Regions from separate parts of the Homo sapiens genome. Here region 2 is linked to region 1. The links are contacts of gene promoters, found by promoter capture Hi-C in blood cells and fetal thymus (Javierre and others, 2016). All regions are on one chromosome and are shown on one strand. The core of a region is centred on a gene start or on the middle of the fragment in contact, and the rest is flanking DNA. Distances in the headings are between cores, read along the strand shown.

The links. The method cuts DNA at HindIII sites, captures the fragments that hold promoters and counts their contacts. A CHiCAGO score of 5 or more calls a contact.
Region 2: a fragment that was not itself captured here is called in contact with the fragment with the promoter of AP3B2 in region 1 in 2 of 17 cell types (non-activated CD4 T cells and naive CD4 T cells); the score reaches 5.2 in non-activated CD4 T cells.

The regions. Positions count from the first base shown.
Region 1 is chr15:82,708,328-82,712,000 of GRCh38, forward strand. It overlaps AP3B2 (adaptor related protein complex 3 subunit beta 2), which reads right to left and starts at 1,548. Exons shown (of 27, transcript NM_001278512.2): 1 at 1,267-1,548. The coding sequence starts at 1,379. It also overlaps the pseudogene LOC338963. RefSeq lists silencers at 1,072-1,331, 1,552-1,601. The HindIII fragment of the contact is 2,125 bases long and covers 22-2,146 here.
Region 2 is chr15:82,915,478-82,919,150 of GRCh38, forward strand. The region is part of intron 1 of HOMER2 (homer scaffold protein 2); the gene reads right to left. It overlaps LOC105370928 (a long non-coding RNA gene), which reads left to right. Exons shown (of 5, transcript XR_007064741.1): 3 at 1,838-1,889. Among named protein-coding and RNA genes, the nearest start is that of HOMER2, 35 kb to the right of the region's middle. The HindIII fragment of the contact is 5,158 bases long and covers 1-3,673 here.

The DNA of each region.
Region 1 (3,673 bases), core at 298-2,797:
CCTGCACCCAAGTGATTAAAAAGCTTTATTGTTCAAAGCCTGTTTGGTGGTCTCTTCACATGGACGTGCGTGAAAATCCTCATCTTCTCCCCCTGTCCCTCTAAACCCCCACCCAATATCCAATTAATCATCAGGTCTGAGGCTTCCACCTCTTCCACAGCCTCAAATCTTCTGCCTCTCCCCTGGTCTAGGCCACAATCATGCCAGGCCTGTGAACTTCAAGACCCACCTCCCTTGTCTCTTGTTCAATCTGGCCCACCTCCAATCTCTTCTCCACAATGCAGCAGCCTGACGTCCTTCTAAAATATAAATCTGATTATGTCGCCTGCTTAGAATCCTTCAGGAGTCCTCCCCACCCTCTTTTCTGGTCAGTCCAGTGGCTCACACAGATTGTGGCCTGGCTCTCAACCTTCCTGAAAGCCCTTTCCTCTGCCTGGAACATACCTCACGCTCCTGTCTTCCTTCTCTCCGGCGCCAGAGACTAGGTCCTCTCCCTGCTCCCACTGCCCCCATTACACTCGACTGTCCCTGACTGCTTCTTCATCTGTGCTCCCCTCTAGAGCATCGTGAGGACAAGAAGGGTCTCATGTTCACAGTTGTATTCCGTGACTAGTTCAGGACTCGACACAGTTGGCTTTTCATAAATGCTTGTTGCAGAATTTACGAATAAACAAATGAAGAAACAAACGAACGAATCAAAGGTGGGGGAGGGTGTGAAGGTGGAGCTGAACTACAGGGGCAATGCCAGGAGCAGGGATGTGAGGGTCAGATGGAGATGGGGACCAGAGGGAGGGGAAATGAATTTGCAGCAGGGCCAAGCTGGGAGGCTGTGCAAGTACATCCAGGGCCCGCCTTCCTGAAGAGGCCCCAGGCTCAAGCTCAAGTTCGCTGACTCAGACCCCTCCCCCACATTTTTGGGAAGCCAACCCGCCTAGCACGAAAAAGGAAGGGAACCCCTAACGCAACGCCGCAAACCGGAGAAACACCTGGAACCGGAGGGTTTCTCCTCTCGAAACTGAGCTGGCCCATCCCCCGCCAGCCCCTATCTGCCCCCCTCCGCGTCCTAGGCCGGCCCCTGGAGCCGGGGTGCCAGCGCTGCCCGCGCTGGGCCGGGGCTCCAGGCCGCAGGAGGGGGCCGGGCGGGCTTCCGGTCGGCGCGGCCGGGGCGGGGCCGGCGCTGGGGCCGGGCGCTGTCCATGGTGCCCGCGCGCCTCGCCCGGTCCCCGGCCCCAACCCTCCCGCGAGCTTCCTGGCGGGCTCCCTCACCGCTTGTAGTCGGAGGAGAAGATGCCGCCGCTCGCGGGGTCGTGGCCGTACTCGGGCTCCCCGGGGCCAGCGGAGCCGCCCTTGTCTTCGCTGTAGGCGGGGGCGGCCGACATGGGGCGGCCAGGGAGACTTCGCCGAGGAGGAGGTTGCGGGGCCGGAGGCCGGCTGGAGCGGAGGAAGGGAAGGCGGGCCGGTCCGGTCCGGGCTGGCGAAGGCGGCGGCGCGGCAGGGGTTCAGCAGAGGCTGCAGTGTGCAGCGGCGGAGGCTGCGCGCGGATTTCTCAATCAGGGCCGCGCGCTGAGGTCTTAAAGGCACCGGCGCCAGCCGAGCGGAGGGCGTGTCCGCGAGGAGGCGACAGGGGCGGTGCGTCAGGGCCTGGCCCCGCCCATCCCTAGGAAATGCCCTCTTCAGGGCGTCTTCTGCCCTTTAAAGCGACTTGGCTCGTCTCCAGATCTAAAGGTGGGCGAGTCTGCTGGACGGACGCTGGGACCGTCTTGCAGGGGATGTGGAATAGCTGCCCCCACCCCCGACCACCTGGCCTCGGCGGGACGGGCCTCTGGGGCTCCGCTCTCCCCAGACGCACGCGCGGATGCTCACCCACGCCGTGGAGGGAAAGCGGGAACTGGAAAGAAGGCTGTGCCCGCAGGCTGGGGGTTCTAGAGCGGGAAGGGGTCACCGCACCCGAGGACCGGCCTCAGATACCTAAGGACGCTCCCTTTCCCGCCCCACCTTTCCTACAAAATCTGGCTTGGCAGCAGGAAGCCGAGGAGCTTCCTGGAGGTGGCGGAATTTAAGGAATTAAGGTCAGGGAGCTCCGAGGAGCCCTTGGGGGCTTAGAGAGATGGGAAACAGGATACAGAGGACGGTGAACATCTAATTAAGCTTTGGAAAGTAGTTTAATGAATCTTTCTGAAGCCTCCACGTCCACCCAGGAGGGCCAAGGTCATGCTTAATCCGGGGACACGTCCACGTCCATTGACACCTGAAAAGGAAGAGAAGGGTCTGGTGTGACCACCAGGGCTCCTGAGTCATGTGAGCCCTCCAGTTCAGCTCCCGAGCCCGAGTGACCCCTAGGCCCAAGGAAGGAAGGCTTGGATCCGATGGAAAGTAGTGAATTGGGCTGGGGGAAGAGGTAGGATCCAGTTGGGCATCAGTTGAGGTGGCTGGAGTCTTTTAGCTGGGCATGGGGACTGGAGGAGTTCCTAAGGCCTGAGTCTTGGTCTGTAACTAGCATCCCGAAGTCTCCATGGGCAGAATTGGCGGGCCTACCTGGGAAGGAGTGGGGCCCAGAAAGGTGGAGCTTGGCTCAGTAGAAAAGTTCTATTGGGGGTAATTCTACTGGGGTAAGGTTCTATTGGGGTAATGAGAAGGTTCTGTTGGGATAACCTAGACAAGTGGGTGGGTCCGCTTGGTTCCGGTGGCTTTGTGCCTGCCAGAGAAAAGTGGATCTTGAATTTGGAGAAAACTGGCCTGGGTGGGGAGTGGGAAGAGAAGGGCCTGGATTTTGCAGTTGCGCGTTTATAAGGCGCTTTGGCTAGTCTGCTCAGGAGGTGGGATGGGTCCTGTGCAGGTAGCTGGGCCACGCTCACCGACCTGCTGGAGCTCCCGTCTATTTGCCGGGGGTCCAGGCTGGGACCTGGGACGAGCAGACACAGTGCAAAGTGCACACAGTTGCTGCGCATGGAGTGATAGGATGGTGGGTCCGCGTCCGTCGCTTCGCTCACTCTGCGCAGCACGCGCCAGCAGGAGCGCAGCAGCGGGCGCTGCCCCTGTTTGGATACGATGCCTTTCCAGGAGCCCAGAAACTTCCCAGGAGCCCACAGCCTCCTGAGTTCTTGCCTGCGGGGATCGCCAGAGGGGTGCGGATCAGAGCCAGGCTTAGGTCCTATGCCCTGTGATCCCGCACCCCCATTTCCTGAGACCTCAGGGACCCTGAGTGCCCAAACCCCATTTTCAGAGAAACGTACCCCCAGCCTGGGACTTCAGTCTTTATCCCCGAGTAGCCAGCTCACTGGTGGGGCGTGGCTTGGCTGGGCAGCCTCTCCGCAGACTTGGGCCTGTGTTTCTGCTGGAGGCACTCACCCTCAAAGTGGATGATCTCTCCATGGCCACAGTATATGCCAACGTGGGCCCCGCACCAGCGTCAGGTGGGGGGAATCAGCCTGAACAGGAAGACGTCTCCTGGCTCAGGCTCCCTGCCCTCCAACTACACAGCCTCGAAGTGTTGACCCAGGAAAGCCTCAGAGAGGAAGAACTTAATGGTGCTGACTGCCCCAGTCAGGGCCTGCATGGAGAAAGGGACCTGCCTTCCTGGCGTTTACACAGGCCTGGGATAGGGAGGAGGTGGGTCCTTCCAATGACCATAGGTCGGATGGTCTGCCCAGGGCTCAGGGAGACCTGTCTTGGG
Region 2 (3,673 bases), core at 514-3,013, 210 kb after region 1:
AGGAGTGGATCACTTGAGCCTAGGAGTTGAAGACCAAGGGAGACCCCTTCGCTACAAAAAACAAACAAACAAACAAACAAACAAAATTTGCCGGGCATGGTGGCACGTGCCTGTAGTCCCAGCTGCTGGGAGGCTAACGTGGGAGGATTGCCTGGGCCTGGGAGTTCAAGGCTGCAGTGAGCTGCCCTGTCTCAAATAAATAGATAAATAAAGCCTTAGAACTGCATACTCCTCAACCCAACAACTCCACTTCTTGGAATCTATTCAAAAGTGATAAATAAGGATATACAAAGATACTTATGCCAAAGGATAGTCACTGAAGAGCTGCTTATTAAAAACAAAAACAAACAAACAAAAATAAACCTGTAAATAAACTAAATGCCCCAAAGTTGAGGATTGGTTAAATTAAGTATGATATATCCGTGCGAAAAGTACCACTTGGCCTTTCAAAATTATAAGTAAATATTTGCTCACATGGAAAGATGGTCTTCTTTTCTTTATGTATTCTGATTGATTCTATACTTCACTGTTACAAAATAAAGAGACCACCCAGTGTTGCTGAGTCCCAGCCTAGCTACAACTTTCTGTCCCCTTCCCTACCAAATAGAATTAGCCAGACCTTGAAGGACTTGAGTGTCACTTGAAACTTCTTGCCTCAGAGGAAACAAAATAATGGGGGGAAACAAAGAATTCATGGGTTCCAGAATTCCAAAAATATTCAGCCAACACTCGGAGCGTGGAGTGAAAAGAGCGAGTTGCTAAACAGCACCATCCTCTGCTCCCATTCTTATAAATATGTGTACAAATATATATTAACTTAACAAATATTTAATCCACAACTATAAAGGAGAGCTGTGCTGGGTGCCAAGAATATCCCAGGAAACAAGACAGCCATGGCCTCAGAATCCAGGGAGATTGGTACCTGTCTGTCTGAGCACCTGTGTGTACATGGGATGAGGTACAAAACAGTGACCCTAAAGCAAGGGTCTTCCGACAGGATTGAGAATAGGTCTATTGCATGCATGTGACGTGAGGACAGCCTTGCTGCAATGAGAAGTCTTATCCAGGCAAGAGAGAGGCCAGTGTCTCTTGCTTCCCAATCTAAAGGTCAAGTGCAGACCCCGCTGGACCAAACAGAACAGGTGTGAGGGTGCTCCAAACACCAGGGTCGGCAGAGGGGGAGAGGTTAAGTACTCTCAAGAGCTTTAGATGGCAAAGGGACAAAGATGACACAAGCTGGATGGGGACTTGGCACTAAGAGAGCTGAGCCCTGAGTTGCCAGCTGCTTGGCCCAAAGTATGGGCTGCTCTGGAAAGAGCCAGAGCCCTCATTTTTTTTTTTTTGAGACAGAGTCTCACTCTGTTGCCAGACTGGAGTGCAATGGCGCGATCTCGGGTTACTGCAACCTCCACCCCCTGGGTTCAAGTGATTATCCTGCCTCAACCTCCCGAGTAGCTGGGATTACAGGCGCACGCCACAATGTCCAGCTAATTTTTGTATTTTTAGTAGAGACGGGGTTTCACCATGTTGGCCAGGATGGCCTCGATCTCTTGACCTTGTGATTCGCCTGCCTCGGCCTCTCAAAGTGCTGGGATTACAGGTGTGAGCCACCGTGCCCGGCCCAGAGCCCTCATTTTACAATTTTTGTTTTTTTCTAACTCACAGTTAACCCACTGAACAAGAAGTACCCATTTCTGATTTGCATTTTCCCTATAAATCCCATTATTGAAAGAGTTTGCCCTTCTAGGCAGAATTTATGAAAAAGTAATTTATTTCCTCATTTCTTCATTGCTCTAAGAAGTCACATATAACCGCCAAACGGTTTTCTAATCTGCAGGATATCACCAAGGTGGCCTCAAGAATTGATAGGATCCCAGCCACAAGTGAAGGTATGTTACCAGCTAGAGCAGGCTGAGAGCAGAACAGCTGCCCTTTATCTTGGGGAAATAGCACAGGCACCTGTCCCTCCTCTCCCAGGGCCCCAGGGGGAACTGCTGGAACAGCCCTTTCCTTCGCACCCAAGGACATGGCACATGATACCAAAGACACATGCAGGAAGGTGCAAGCGGGGAAGATCCGCCCCCGTGGGGACAGCAGCAAACCCCAGTGTATGTGAGAGGGAGAAGTTACGTGTTTAGAATATTATGAGATTGAGGCATTTAAGGGAAGTCTTCAAGGAAGGAAAACTAGTTAAGAAGAATAAACCCATTGTTCTACAGCCATGGTGAGCTTGCTGTAAACACTTGGAAACAGTGTGCCTCCCACCAGCCTTTCATATGCTGCAGGCCTATGCACACAGTAGGCCCAAAATACTTGCTAAACTAGATTATTTGGCTTTAAAATTATATCACATGTGCCCAGCAAGGCAAAACTCATCTCTATTATTTCCCACAATGTCAAGGGCAAAAGTGAAATCAACCTCATCTGGTCTAAGACAGGTGTGGGGGCCCCAAATCCTTATAGTTTAGGGGCGAGACTGCTGCTGAGACTAGAGCCCTGCAGGACTGGGTCAGCCTGCTCCTCAGCTGGACCATCTACTCCGAGGAGCAGCTCGGAGCAGGATCATGGAGAACACCTGGGCAGCAAATGGCCCAGAGCTAACTAGGGACTAAAAGCAGGCAGCATTGCCCGAGCCGCATTACACACTCATCAAAGTCCCAGTGTCTACTCTCATAAGAATCCTTCAAAAATCTAACGCTTGACCCTAGGGACACAGAGATATATAGACGCCATCCCTCCCGGACAGCACTCACTGGCAGTGACTCAGGATGAGTACTGGGTGCAGAAACTCCAGCACCTGAGGGTACAGATACTCAGGCCACGGTGCTCTGGGGTTCAGGTGTCACAGCCAGAGGTCTTTGCCAGGGATCCTCTAGAGCAGGCAGATGCTATTCTCAGGACAGTGTGATCATGTTGGGACAGTGCCCACGGGACAGGATACCACAGTGCTCAGATTTCTCTCCTACCAGGGCCTCATTTCCGTGTCCTACTTGAGTATCAGGCCCCACCTCAGCAGGTGAGGCTGGGTGGTCTGGTGGGGGCTCATTCCCTTAGTTCTTCTCCATGGGGTTTCCCCTCCACACTCACCTCCACAGCTTTGAGGACATGTCTATGTGATGACACCTGAATGTGTACCTCCAGCCCAGGTGTCTCTCCTGAACCCCATGCTTGCACCTTACCTCCCTGCTGCTGTTCTCCCTGCACCCCTATTTCAGTGACTCACACCACTGGATCTGTCACTATGGCAGAAACCTGGGAATCTCACACCCAGCACACAGCAGGAACATCTCCCTCGCTGTCCTCTCCTCAGCAGCCCAGGCTGTCAGCCTCCTACCTAGTAGTGTCCTCCAATGGGCCACAGGTGTGTTGAACTCGGCCCCGTAAATGGCTGTGCAGGGCACAACTCTGAGTGTCAATCATGAAAGACACGCAGACTCATTACATCAACTGCCTGGCAGATCACAGATTTCCAGAAGGTGTCTTAAAGAAGCGTTTTTTTCTAATTTGTACAAAGATGTCACTTGTCCTGGGAAGAAGTAGCCTGCTGAGAAGGGGATCTCAACCCTCAGGGTGCAGAGCAGGGCCTGGGCCACAGGAGTCCCAGGGCTGGGCACTGTTTTGTCCATTTGCCTAGGTGCTGTAAACATATTTTCCATGTGTCCGTGACACTAAA